Linked DNA regions of Homo sapiens: region 2 is linked to region 1. The links are contacts of gene promoters, found by promoter capture Hi-C in human tissues and cell types (Jung and others, 2019). All regions are on one chromosome and are shown on one strand. Each heading gives the region's core, a stretch centred on a gene start or on the middle of the fragment in contact. The rest is flanking DNA. Distances are from core to core; before and after follow the strand shown. Region 1 holds the start of NHLRC1 (NHL repeat containing E3 ubiquitin protein ligase 1). Region 2 has its middle 56 kb from the start of NHLRC1.

Region 1 (7,095 bases), core at 4,596-7,095:
AAACACCCTGTGTCCATGGGATAGAGTCCTTTCCGCTTGCAGTTGTGCCCAAAGAATCTTAAATACAAATGAGATATCCTTAGGTAGTTGATCATTTATGTAATATGTGTCTTCACTGGGGAATACTGACTTCCTAAAATCTCAAGATGGAAGATATACCACATGTAAATTATTTTAGAGCAATTAAATTGTTTTCAGGATTTTCCAAAAATGCTTCTTGTTTCATTTTATTATTTAAGTAACAGATTATCTGAGCCTCTGTGCCCTGCACACAGTGGTTTATAAATGCCTTGCCCTGCCTATGAAGCAGGCATGAATGCTCCAGTATAGACAGTGTTATCACTAGCAGACAGGACAAAGTAAGAAAGGTACGTAATAATTAATCTATTTGGGTGAATGTGGAAAGAAAAATACAAAGAAATATAACCAAAGCTTAAACAGCTATCACTGGGAAGTCAGAGATTTGGCTCCATAAAGAATGGTTTAGGGACCACAGAAGGTGGCCCAAAAGATGTACCTATGAGAGAGCTCCCAGCTGACGGGATTCATTGGCAGCATGAAGTGACAAATACAAATCTAAGCCATGGAGATATTAGTTCAAGCAATTTACCAAGTCGCAACTGTAGTACATACCTGTCATTGTTTTATTTTAATACAAGGGAGCAATTTCAATGTGTGTTTGTGTATACATGTATATGTTTATGTCGCACCTACTCCTTATTTTTTTTTTTTATTTTGAGACAGGGTCTCACTCTGTCGCCCAGGCTGGAGTACGGTGGTGTGATTATAGCTCACTGCGGCCTCAATTTCCTAGGCTTAAGCAATCCTTCTGCCTCAGCCTCCTGAGTAGACAGGACTGCAGGTGTGTGCCACCACACCCAGCTAATTTTTTTTTTTATTTTTAGTAGAGACAAGGTCTCACTATGTTGCCCAGCACGATCTCAAACTCCTGGCCTCAAGTGATCCCCCCACCTCAGCCTCCCAAAGAGCTGCTCAGCCTACACCTACTCTTTCTGAAAGGTGTTTCAGAGAAAGATTTCTACTGAGTGCTTTTTAAAAAATCAGTTATTGGCCGGGCACAGTGGCTCATGCCTGTAACCCCAGCACTCTGGGAGGCCGAGGTGGGCGGATCACCTGAGGTCGGGCATTCGAGACCAGCCTGGCCAACACGGTGAAACCCTGTCTTTACTAAAAATACAAAAAATTAGCCGGGCATGGTTGGCACATGTCTGTAATCCCAGCTACTCGGGAGGCTGAGTCAGGAGAATTGCTTGAACCCAGGAGGTGGAGGTTGTGGTGAGCCGAGATCAAGCCATTGCACTCCAGCCTGGGCAACGAGCAAAACTGTCTCAAAACAAAAACAACAACAACAAAATTAAAATTAAAAATTATCATCTTTAATCCCTACAGCTCTGACTTTCCAATCACTTCTTATGTGATGTGCTTTTTGCCTTATAAAACATTATATGACAAATTCACCAGTGGCTGGTGGGAATTGGACAGAATTCTATTTATGTGCCTTAAGCATAGTCATTCCGATTTGCAGAAAATAGTCATGTCCCAGATTTATTACTTATGTGTAGCTGTAATTTGTGAGCTGAAAATATGCTTGAAAATCTGTGATTCCTGAACAGTGGGTATTAATAGAAATTTATTTCACTATTGGTGTTAACTTTCGACAACAGGAGGATAATCGAGGCAGATATTTAGAAATGAAATATATCATAAAATATTAAGTTATTTATATTTAAATATGACAAATAATCCTTTATGCATTGAAAATTTGGGAAGTCTAAAAAGAAAAAGAAAAGCAATCAAGTCCTATCACTGGAGATAATTACTGCTATGATGGTGATGTATTTTCTTCTCATCTTTTTTGTCTGCTCATACATGTGAATGTTTTCACAAGGTTGTTGTGATCACATTACGATACAGTATTGTATCTCCACTATCTTTCTTTCTATTTCATTCACCCTTCCTGGAGTTGAGGCAGGAGAATAGGGTCTTGAGGCAGGGAACCTAAGGCTGATTCATGCTGACTTCCTAGAACTAAATTGAAAGGAAAACCTCAACTTTCCATGCCTAAGTAACAAAAGGACCAGAGGCTACTCCCTTTGTAACCTCCACCACCCCACCGCCCCTAGCCTTTTCTGCGTGGCAGAAACATCTGCAACCAATCAAACGTTTGCATAGGAGTGTAACTTTTGTAACTTCACTTCGGCCTCTCATTGGTTGCAGCAAGCAAAAGCAACCAATCAGACTGATTGCGGGCCACTACTTTATTTGCATGGGATGAATACCAAGTGGCCAGTGGGAAACCTCTAGGCAGTATTTGGACCCCAGAAGATTCTGTAACCAGGGCCCTTGAGCCACTGCTCAGCCAGGTCCCACCCTGTGGAGCACTTTCATTTTCAATAAATCTCTGCTTTTGTTACTTCATTCTTTCTCTGCTTTGCTGTGCATTTTGTCCAATTCTTTGTTCAAAAAGCCAAGAACCTGGACAACTTGTAGTCAAACCTTCTACTGGTAACAGTGTCACTAAATATTTTTCAAAAGCAAGATTTTTAAATAGCTGTATAATGTTGTAATGTGGCAGTACAATTATTATTTAGTCTTTCTCCTGCTATTAGAGTCAGCATTCATTCAGCAATTTAAGTACTATTGGGTGTGCTAGCAGATAAAGGTTTATTGATTATTGAAGATAATCCTTTTCTCAGGCATCACAGGTTGTAGGGGTAGGGACTGAACATTGAACTTCATATGGTATGGCTGTCTTAGGGGTACAGGCAGGGAGCTGTCAGCTTATAACTGGTCATTTAAACCACGAGGAAGTGAAGATGGCATTGCTCAGGGAAACAGGTAGGAAGCTAAGAGAAAAAGACTGAAGGTGGCACCCTGAGGAACACTCAATTGCATTGAACTTGAGATGCACTCAAATCTCTAGATCCCCATTTCCAAACATACATCTCCACTCATTTTTGTATGGACTTACTCAAAAAATTCAAAAACAGCCATTCTTCCTCTTGCCACCACATCCCTCACCCCTGAGATGCCAAGAACATGGAGCTTAAAAATTAGAGTGGTGGTCAGAGACGCCCCTGGGAGGAGGGCAAGGCTGGAAGCAAAGCCCATTCTGTGTGGCTTGTTCATCTTCCTTTCCCTTACATCATTGTCAGGTAGTCTGAGTTGTAATTGGATCATTAAACTTGTTCTGGGATTCCTTCTAAACTGCATGTGTCTGGCACATTTGCCCCACCTGCACAACCAGGAGCCCACCTGTCTAAGCACTGACTCCCCCTAACTCATGCTCCCCCTGTGCTCTCTTCTCTGCTGGAACCATCCTGAGCTGGGTCCCCACTCTCCTTCCACTATAGTATGGTACTTTTTCATAGGGCAGCCATTGACCACTTTGGAAACTAGACGTTCTGCTCTTCAAGCCCTTTGCCCCCACAACTCTCAGGGCTTGTTCTAGGTGGAAGCAGGAAAAGATGGGCATGCTAGTCCAGGACCCTCTATAGAAGGAATATCGGAGGGAAGCACAGGGTAAATCCATGGAGGCCCAGCCATGGAGGAGGAAATGATAGTCATAGGAAATGCCAAATGTCAGAGTGAGATTCAAGACATATTTGTTATTAATCAATTATGCAATGGTGTGATTGCATAAATAATGTGATTTTAGTTGGTTGTTTATTTGGGATGGAAATGTAGTCAGAAATTATTAAGTTGGTTATTGTGTCCCAGTACGCAATCTTTGAGTCAAATGACATTTGATTAGAAAATGTTCTTTCTTGTCTTACATTAAAGCTCTTTCCAGGGGCCTCAACAGGGGATAAAATATTGTGTTTTCTCAGAAATCTAGCAAATCAGAAGGTGAATGTTCATGATTATGATCTCTAAAGGAAAAGAAATTCTCTAATACAAGGTTTTGTTAAGCACAATGTTCACATAAGACATTTGAGGGAGAACCCCTTAAAAATAAGAGTTTAGGGCCAGGCACGGTGGCTCATGCCTGTAATCCTAGCACTTTGGGAGGCTGACGCGAAAGGTCAGAAGTTTGAGACCAGCCTGGCCAACATGGTGAAACCTCATCTCTACTAAAAATACAAAACTTAGCCAGGCATGGTCACGGGTGCCTGTAATCCCAGCTACTCAGGAGGCTGAGGTGGGAGAACCGCCTGAACCCAGGAGGTGGAGGCTGCAGTGAGCCGAGATCGCGCCACTGCACTCCAGCCTGGTGACAGAGCAAGACTCTGTCTCAAAAAGAAAAAAAAAAAAAAGAAAGAAAAAGAAAAATGAGAGATTATAATACCACAATGGATTCTTCACACAGATTATGCTATCCCTTGTTTGAAGATTTTCCAACATATGGCAAATTCTCTTTGTTTTTGGTCTTAACTGAGATTGGAAAAACTGAACTTAGTGTCATTTGAGGGAATTATTATAATGCAGTGTTTCTCAAACTTGGCTGTACATTATAATCACCTGGGGAGCTTTTATAAATCCCAGCTGTCCAGACCACACCATGGGCCAATTAAACTTTTCGGGTGCGACCCAGGTGTTTACCATGTGCAAAGAAGTTTGAAAATGACTAAAATAGGTAACTCTGAAGTCAAACTGCCTGGCTTCAAATTCCAGGCCAGCCACTTCCTAGCCATGTGACCCTGGGCAAGATATTTGATTTCTATGAATTCTATCAGAAAAAAAGACAATAAAAATAACATATTTTTGTAGGATTGCTATGAGGTTTAAACAAGATAATCTATGTAAATTATTTATTAATTTGCTGCAAAAGTAATCACGGTTTTGCCATTAAAAGTGATGGCAAACACTGCGAATCCTTTTCACCAACCTAACACAATGGGGCAGGCATATGTGAATTCCATAGGCTGGGCACAGTGGCTCACACCAGCACTTTGGGAGGCCAAGGGGTGGGGAGGAATGTGAACAATTTTCACAAGTTCAAGACCAGCCTAGGCAACATAGTGAGACCTCCTCTCTACAAAAAAATTAAAAAATTAGCCTAGTGTGATGGTGCATGCCTGTAGTCCCAGCTACTGAAGTGGGAGGATTGCTTGAGCCTGGGAGATGGAGGCTGCAGTGAGCTGTGATCGTGCCCCTGCACTCCAGCCTGGGTGACAGAGTGAGACTTTGTCTTAAAAAACAAAAAAATGAAGTTCTATGGTAATTATTATTAACTAACAGCTTTCTTATTTCATATTAATTACTCTGCAAGACACTTCCAGCATGGTTGCCCCATCTGACACTCATTCACCTCGTTGATTTTTTTTTGTTGTTGTTGTTGTTCTATAACATTCATTCATGCACAAATTCATTTTACAAGTATGTATTCATCTAACATTGACTTAACTATGAGTATGACAGAAGACACAAAAGAAATGTACACATCTGCCTCACCTCCCTTGGAGTTTATCTTCTCTAGTGTGTTCGTGTTTTCCGGTTCAGATCATAAGCATCATGAGCTAAGGGACCATGTTTTATGCCCGGACAGCCGTAGCACCCGGCGCTGCGGATTGGAGACACTGCTAGGCACCCGGGCTGGAAGATTGGGTTCTAGTTCTTGTTTTGCCGCTTACAGGCTGGGTGACAGGGAGCAATCCTGTTGTCCTCAATAGGTGTGTTTCCTCATCTGAAAGTGTACACAATCCATCCATGACTGCTGTGACGATTACAGGTCTACACAACGCGCATGTGGATTTGTCTTGCAAACGTCCACCATCAGGCCCTCAGGAAACAGTGCCGCGCGTGCCCACCAAGGGGCAGCAGATCGCAGTGCAGAGGCCCGCGGCGCTCGACGTCAGGGCGCACGTCCCACCCCGTGACCATGACTGTGACCGTGACCGAGAGCGTCGCTGGGGCACGGCCAGGCGGCGCGGCGGGAGTGCACAGGACGCGCCATGGCGGCCGAAGCCTCGGAGAGCGGGCCAGCGCTGCATGAGCTCATGCGCGAGGCGGAGATCAGCCTGCTCGAGTGCAAGGTGTGCTTTGAGAAGTTTGGCCACCGGCAGCAGCGGCGCCCGCGCAACCTGTCCTGCGGCCACGTGGTCTGCCTGGCCTGCGTGGCCGCCCTGGCGCACCCGCGCACTCTGGCCCTCGAGTGCCCATTCTGCAGGCGAGCTTGCCGGGGCTGCGACACCAGCGACTGCCTGCCGGTGCTGCACCTCATAGAGCTCCTGGGCTCAGCGCTTCGCCAGTCCCCGGCCGCCCATCGCGCCGCCCCCAGCGCCCCCGGAGCCCTCACCTGCCACCACACCTTCGGCGGCTGGGGGACCCTGGTCAACCCCACCGGACTGGCGCTTTGTCCCAAGACGGGGCGTGTCGTGGTGGTGCACGACGGCAGGAGGCGTGTCAAGATTTTTGACTCAGGGGGAGGATGCGCGCATCAGTTTGGAGAGAAGGGGGACGCTGCCCAAGACATTAGGTACCCTGTGGATGTCACCATCACCAACGACTGCCATGTGGTTGTCACTGACGCCGGCGATCGCTCCATCAAAGTGTTTGATTTTTTTGGCCAGATCAAGCTTGTCATTGGAGGCCAATTCTCCTTACCTTGGGGTGTGGAGACCACCCCTCAGAATGGGATTGTGGTAACTGATGCGGAGGCAGGGTCCCTGCACCTCCTGGACGTCGACTTCGCGGAAGGGGTCCTTCGGAGAACTGAAAGGTTGCAAGCTCATCTGTGCAATCCCCGAGGGGTGGCAGTGTCTTGGCTCACCGGGGCCATTGCGGTCCTGGAGCACCCCCTGGCCCTGGGGACTGGGGTTTGCAGCACCAGGGTGAAAGTGTTTAGCTCAAGTATGCAGCTTGTCGGCCAAGTGGATACCTTTGGGCTGAGCCTCTACTTTCCCTCCAAAATAACTGCCTCCGCTGTGACCTTTGATCACCAGGGAAATGTGATTGTTGCAGATACATCTGGTCCAGCTATCCTTTGCTTAGGAAAACCTGAGGAGTTTCCAGTACCGAAGCCCATGGTCACTCATGGTCTTTCGCATCCTGTGGCTCTTACCTTCACCAAGGAGAATTCTCTTCTTGTGCTGGACACAGCATCTCATTCTATAAAAGTCTATAAAGTTGACT
Region 2 (7,095 bases), core at 1,618-4,117, 55 kb after region 1:
AGAGATCGCCAAAGGAACCCACTCTGCCAACACGTTGATCGTGGACTTCTACCCAGTAATAAATTGGCTTAATTTTTGTTAAGCCACCCAGTCTGTGGTACTTTATCGGCAGCCAGAGCAGACTAATAAAACGAGCAAGAGTTTATGAGGGAAGTTCCTGTGAGGGAAAAAAGGGAGAGGAAATAAGAGAAAGTAGAGTCTCAGACTGCAATGAGGTGTGACATCTGTGGAGTGAGAAAAGACAGGAAGGTGGGGAAGAGCTGAGCTCAGGCTCAGCTCCAACTGTCTGGAGAATCCAAGTTCTTCAGCATCTGGCCTAGCACCCCTGCAAGCTCAGTCATTGGTTGGGAGCAGCTCAGGGGATGTGTTCCAGGCATGAACACTGCAACACACCCGAGGGCTGGGGGCTGTCAGTCACCTGCCCTCCCCACAACCTGTTCTCCTGAAGCGAGACCTGGGTAGCATACCTCCATGCTGCCTCGCTGGGTGACAGATTGCAGGCCTGTCCCTGCCCTTCCCCTTCCCAAATACCCTCCTCTTCCTTGCCTTCCCTTAGCACTTCCGTAGGAGCTCATGACAAATAGCAGAAAACCAGAGGTGAGTGGAGGTTATAGGCTAAACAATGGGAGAAATGCCAATCTATTGGAAAATGAGGCAGGGAAAATTCCAATTTACTCTAGTTTCAAAGAGTCTTTGGGAGGCTGAGGCAGGAGGATCACTTGAGCCCAGGAGCTCAAGACCAGCCTGAGCAACATAGTGAGATTCCAACTCCACCAAAAATACAAAAATTAGCCAGGCATGGTGATGTGCCTATAGTCCCAGCTACTCAGCAGGCTGGGGAAGGAGGATCGCTTGAGCCTAGAAGTTCAATGTTGCAGTGAGCTATGATTGCACCACTGCACTCCAGCCTGGATGACCGAGTAAGACCCTATCTCAAAAAAAAAAAAAAAAAAAAAAAAAAGTCAAAACCACAATTCAGTTCAGGCCAGGTGCAGTGGCTCATGCCTGTAATCCCAGAATTTTGGGAGGCCAAGGTGAGTGGATCACCTGAGGTCAGGAGTTTGAGACCAGCCTGACCAACAAAGTGAAACCCTGTCTCTACTAAAAACACAAAAATCAGCTGGGTGTGGTGGTGCATGCCTGTAATCCCAGCTACTCGGGAGGCTGAGGCAGGAGAATTGCTTGAACCCAGGAGGCAGAGGTTGCAGTGAGCTGAGATCATGCCACTGCACTCCAGCCTGGGTACAAGACTCTGTCTCAAAAAAAAAAAAAAATAGATCAGCTACGTCACAATCACTTGGGACACCTAATAAATATAGGCTGTCCTGTGGTGGGACTGGAGCTGAGAAAGTTGAATTTGTGCATGAGTGTGTGTGTGTACATGAATGTGTAAATGCACAGCCAGTCTGAAGATCACACTGCCCATAGTTTCTCACCATGACCCATATTTGCAACACAAATGGTTGAGGATTATAGTTTGTCACTGTGAGAAGGAACAAAAAATTAATTGGCTTCATGAGCTCCTCCTTGTATCAACTGAAGGCCCTGCATGCTCTTTGAGGGACAGCTGAAATTCGGAACAAAGAGGCTCCCTCAAAGAGTGGAAATGAAAGGAGTAATATATGGTTCTTCTCAATCACATTGCCATGTGGAGACTCGGTGCTCTAGGAATTTTTATTATTAGCAACAGAAGGATCCACATGCCCACCTCTGTCACTTCCCACCCACTCCACATACACTGCTTCTTTGTTGGCAGAATATTACTCTAAGTGTGTTTTTACCCTTAGAATACAGCTCTAATTTCTGTTATTTTTCAGTTTTCATAACAATTTTTGAGCATATTGCTCATTCCAGTTTGAATAAACAGAAATTTGGGCTTAGATGTTATTTCATGTCAATCAGAGCCTTAAAAGAAGCTTAGCTCGGCCAGGTGGGGTGGCTCACGTCTGTAAGCCCAGCACTTTGGGAGGCCGAGGTGGGCGGATCACTTAAGGTCAGGAGTTCGAGACCAGCCTGGCCAACGTGGTAAAACCCCGTCTCCACTAAAAATACAAAATCAGCCAGACTCGGTGCTGTGCGCCTGTAATCCCAGCTACTCAGGAGGCTGAAGCACAAGACTCGATTGAACCCAGGAGGCGGAGGTTGCAGTGAGCTCAGCCGAGATTGTGCCACTGCACCCCTGCCTGGGTGACAGAGCGAGATTCCGTCTCAAAAAAAAAAAAAAAAAAAAAAAAAAAGCTTAGCTCTTATGTTAATATCTTTTCTGTTTTATTTTTCTTTATGATATCATTGTGTTCTCTACTATAAATTTCAGTTAATGTATTCTTTTTTTTTTTTTTTTTTTTTTTTTTTTTTTTTTTTTTTTTTTGAGACGGAGTGTCTCACTGTATCGCCCAGGCTGGAGTGCAGTGGCGCGATCTCAGCTCACTGCAAACTCCGCCTCCCGGGTTCACGCCATTCTCCTGCCTCAGCCTCCTGAGTAGCTGGGACTACAGGCGCCCGCCACCGCGCCCAGCTAATTTTTTGTATTTTTAGTAGAGACGGGGTTTCACCGTGTTAGCCAGGATGGTCTCAATCTCCTGACCTTGTGATCCGCCCGCCTCAGCCTCCCAAAGTGCTGGGATTACAGGCGTGAGCCACTGCGCCCGGCCAATGTATTCTTGAGATTATTAGAGAAGTGCAGATACACTACGTGTGCTCTCACACCACAAAAATCAACACTGAAGATGTCTGTGACCAAATGTGTGGGGATTTTTTCCCCACTAACAGGAAGCAATCAGTTCTGCCGCAGACACTAGCTGGGTGTTCTCCAATTCAATTCTGACGCTATCCACCTGGAGATAGTGTCAGATCCCACAGACTGAGGGCTCAGTCCCACAAGATCGCCTTTCCTTTAGACGCCAGTTGCAAGCCCAAGCCTGTTGAACTTCTGACCAATCCACTTCAAGTTGGGTGACCACCACTTTATGCGCGATTAATTTGCTAAAAGTGGCTCACAAAACTCAGGGAAACACTTAGGTTTACTGATTTATTTTAAAGGCTATTTTAAAAGATACAAATAAATAGCCAGATGAAGAGATACATAGGGTGAGGTCTGAAAGGGTCCTGACTGCAGGAGCCTCAGTTCCCGTGGAGAGGGATGCGCCACCCTCCCGGCAGGCGGATGAATTCTTGTTCATTTTCTTGCAAGCCTCCAGAACTTCAGCTGTGCAAAAGTTTCCCATACCTTATCCTCTTGGGCCTTTTATGGAGATTTTATTGGATAGGTATGATTGACAACCAAGGAGAACTGTGATTGGACAAAAAGAGTATGATCTAATGCTTATAGATTGAGTGGGGAAACCCGGTAAGGCCGAGATTCTTCCTGGCCTGTCTATGCAGCGTTCCTTCTTCCCGAGTATGGGACAGGACCCCTTCGGACTGGGGGTCTTACAACCTAAAATCAGACAAGGAAGGCAGTTCAGAGAATTTCAAGTCAGAAGATTAGAATATATTTTTAGTTTCTGTAGCCTGCATGGAGGAGAAAAAGAAGATAAAAGGGGGGCAGGAGGTCAGAGAGTGAGATTCTGTTTTCTAAGGCCTAAAATGCCCCAATATTATAACAAAAGATTGTCTCACCTTTATTGCTCTGGAGCCATTCGGAAGCTGCTTCAGGAATCAAGGACAAAAGATATGTTAAGGAACAATATGTTAAGGAACAATATGTTAAGGAAAGATATGCTTACTATTTTAGTCACTTAGGAAATTAACAAGGGCTATGGGAGTTATGAGCCAGGAATTGTGGACAAAAACCAACATACATATAATATCATACCACCCCAGTAATAATTTTCTCCCCTTTCCACTAGTTAAGTTATATTAACTAAAATATTATTAAGTAAAGTAGAAACAACCTCAATGTCCATCAACAGATTAGTGAATAAACAAAATGTGACATATTCATAAAATAGAATGTTATTTGGCATAAAAAGGAATGAAGCACTGGCCCGGTGCAGTGGCTCACACCTGTAATCTCAGCACTTTGGGAGGCCGAGGCAGGTGGATCACCTGAAGTCAGGAGTTCAAGACCAGCCTGACCAACACAGTGAAACCCTGCCTCTACTAAAAATACAAAAATTATCCAGGCCTGGTGGCACGTGCCTGTAATCCCAGCTACTCAGGAGGCTGAGGCACAAGAATCTCTTGAACCCAGGAAGTGAAGGCTGCAGTGAGCCAAGATCGCACCACTGCACTCCAGCCTGAGTGACACAGTGAGACTGTTTTGTGTTTGTTTTATGAAACAAACAAAAGAATAAAGTACTGACACAGGCTAAAACATGAATGAGCCTTGAAAATATTGTTGTGCTAAGTGAAAGAAGCCAGACACAGAAGGCCACCTACCGTGTGATTCTGTTTATACAAAATGTCCAGAACAGGCAAATCCATAGAGACACAAAGTAGTTTAGCACAGTGGTCCCCAACCTTTTTGGCACCAGGGACCGGTTTTGTGGAAGACAATTTTTCCATGGACCCGTTGGGAGGTAGCGGGGAGCGGTGAGGGGATGGTTTCAGGATGAAACTGTTTTACTTTAGATCATCAGGCATCAGATTTTCATAAGGAGCACGCAACCTAGATGCCTGCATGCACAGTTCACAATAGGGTTCCGGCTCCTATGAGAATCTAATGCCTCCACTGATCTGACAGGAGGCGGAGCTCAGGCGGTAATGCTCGCTGACCCACCACTCACCTCCTGCTGTGTGGCCCAGTTCCTAACAGGCCACCAACTGGTACTGGTCCACGGCCCCAGGGTTGGGGACCCCTGGTTTAGCAGTGGTTCCCAAGGGCTGGGTGGGGGAGGGGAATGGGGAGTGACTGATAATGGGAGTGGAATTTCTTTTTGGTTTTTTTTTTTTGAGACAGAGTCTCACTCTGTTGCCCAGGCTGGAGTGCAGTGGTGTGATCTTGTCTCACTGCAGTCTCGAACTCCCAGGCTCAAGTGATCCTCCCACTTCAGCTTCTGATATGGTTTGGCTGTGTCCCCACCCAAATCTCAGCTTGAATTGTATCTCCCAGAATTCCCACGTGTTGTGGGAGGGACCCAGGGAGAGGTAATTGAATCATGGGGGCCAGTCTTTCCTGTGCTATTCTCATGATAGTGAATAAGTCTCATGAGATCTGATGGGTTTATCAGGAGTTTCTGCTTTTGCTTCTTCCTCATTTTCTCTTGCCACCGCCATGTGAGAAGTGCCTTCGCCCCCTGCCATGATTCTGAGACCTCCCAAGCCATGTGAAACTGTAAGTCCAATTAAACTTCTTTTTCTTCCCAGTCTCAGGTATGTTTTTATCAGCAGCATGAAAAGAGACTATTACAGCCTCCCAAGAGGCTGGGACTACAGAAGCCCACTACCACACCAGGCTATTTTTTTGGTATTTTTTTGTAGAGTCAGGATTTCATGATATTGCCCAGGCTGGTCTTGAATTCCTGGGTTCAAGCGATCCTCCTGCCTCAGCATCCCAAAGGGCTGAGATTATAGGCATGAGCCACTAGGCCTGGTGTGGATGGGATTTCTTTTTGTGGTGATGAAAATGTTTTGGAATTAGATAGTGTTGATAGTTGCATAAACACCAAATTTAAAAGGGTGAATTTTATGTTACATGAAGTATATCTCAAAAAGAAAATTAGAAATACATAAAATAATGGAGGCAAACATGCCACAGTCTTTAAAAGATTTGCATCATCTGCAAACACACACACATGCAAACACACACACACACACACACACACATCCCACAAATGTCTGTATCTCTCACAACAGCCATCTTTATTTAAACTTGCTCAATTTCATTTGGATAGGACTGAAAGAATTATATAATTAAAATTGGATGACTTTGTTAAAAACAAGCTAACTTTACTAATAAAATGGAAGATGTATAGGCCAATCTATAGAGACAGAAGGTAGATTAGTGGTTGCCTGGGGCTGGGGCTTGGACCAAGGACTGAGTGTAAATGGGCATGAAGTTTCTTTTTGACAAGATGGAAATGTTCTAAAGTTGGATTATGGTGACAGTTGTACAACTCTGTACATTTACTAAAAATTACTGAATTGTACACAATATTACTGTATGCAAATTATACTTCAATATGTAAATTATACTGTTAAAACAAAATGCAAAGTAAATTAATAAAGGTCTACAGGCCGCACGTGGTGGCTCATGCCTGTAATCCCAGCACTTTAGGAGGCCAAGGGGTGGGGGGGGGGGTGCGGATCACCTGAGGTCGGGAGTTCAAGACCAGCCTGACCAACATGGAGAAACCCCGTCTCTACTAAAAATACAAAATTAGCTGGGCATGGTGGCACATGCCTGTAATCCCAGCTACTTGGGAAGCTGAGTAGGAGAATTGCTTGAACCTGGGAGGTTGAGGTTGCGGTGAGCCGAGATTGTGCCACTGCACTCCAGCCTGGGCAACATGAGCAAAACTCCGTCTCAAAAAATAAAAATAAAAAAATAAAAAACATAAAGGCCTATGAGTTAGTCCTGGAAACAAAAGCATTGCACATACACAGGAGAAACACTGAAAGGAACTATACCAAAATTTTCCTGATGCTGTTTTTGCATGGTGGAAAATATGTTTATTTGTTATTTTCTTCTTTTTTTTTTGGTTTTTCTAAGTTATCTATAGTGAGCAAATATTTATAAGGTATGTTATCATTAAAATGTCTTTATATTTCATGTATTTAGGCAAAAACTAAAACCTACATGTTTTTATTTAAATAGTGAACAAAAATGATTGTTATTTAACTCTAGAGCAATCTGTATACCTGATTTCTTTTGGGAGATGTTATTAGCTGAAGGACTGTCAAAATGGAGTTAAACTCACTCAATTACATGCAAACATAGCAAACTTACACTCTGGCTATAACAGAGTACCTTGGATCCCTAATACCATCACAATAGGAATAAATATCAAAGCTGTATAAAAATGCAAAACAATAATATCAACATGCAAAACAACAAAAACAGCTTCTTTAAGGCATCGGAAATCAACAAAATCAGCCAGGACTTAAGGAGCCAAGATCCTGGATAGGTGACACCAACATAAATTATTACTTTGC

The links. Contacts are between HindIII fragments. The study calls those that stand out against the background at their distance.
Region 2: a contact is called between a fragment that was not itself captured here and the fragment with the promoter of NHLRC1 in region 1, in 2 of the 25 tissues and cell types used here (IMR-90 fibroblasts and aorta).

Annotation. Positions count from the first base shown.
Region 1 is chr6:18,121,427-18,128,521 of GRCh38, reverse strand. It overlaps NHLRC1 (NHL repeat containing E3 ubiquitin protein ligase 1), which reads left to right and starts at 5,845. Exons shown (of 1, transcript NM_198586.3): 1 at 5,845-7,095. The coding sequence starts at 5,916. TPMT (thiopurine S-methyltransferase) reads left to right here. Exons shown (of 9, transcript NM_000367.5): 9 at 1-211. The HindIII fragment of the contact is 9,942 bases long and covers 1-6,886 here.
Region 2 is chr6:18,063,064-18,070,158 of GRCh38, reverse strand. No RefSeq gene overlaps it. Among named protein-coding and RNA genes, the nearest start is that of NHLRC1, 56 kb to the left of the region's middle. The HindIII fragment of the contact is 4,089 bases long and covers 823-4,911 here.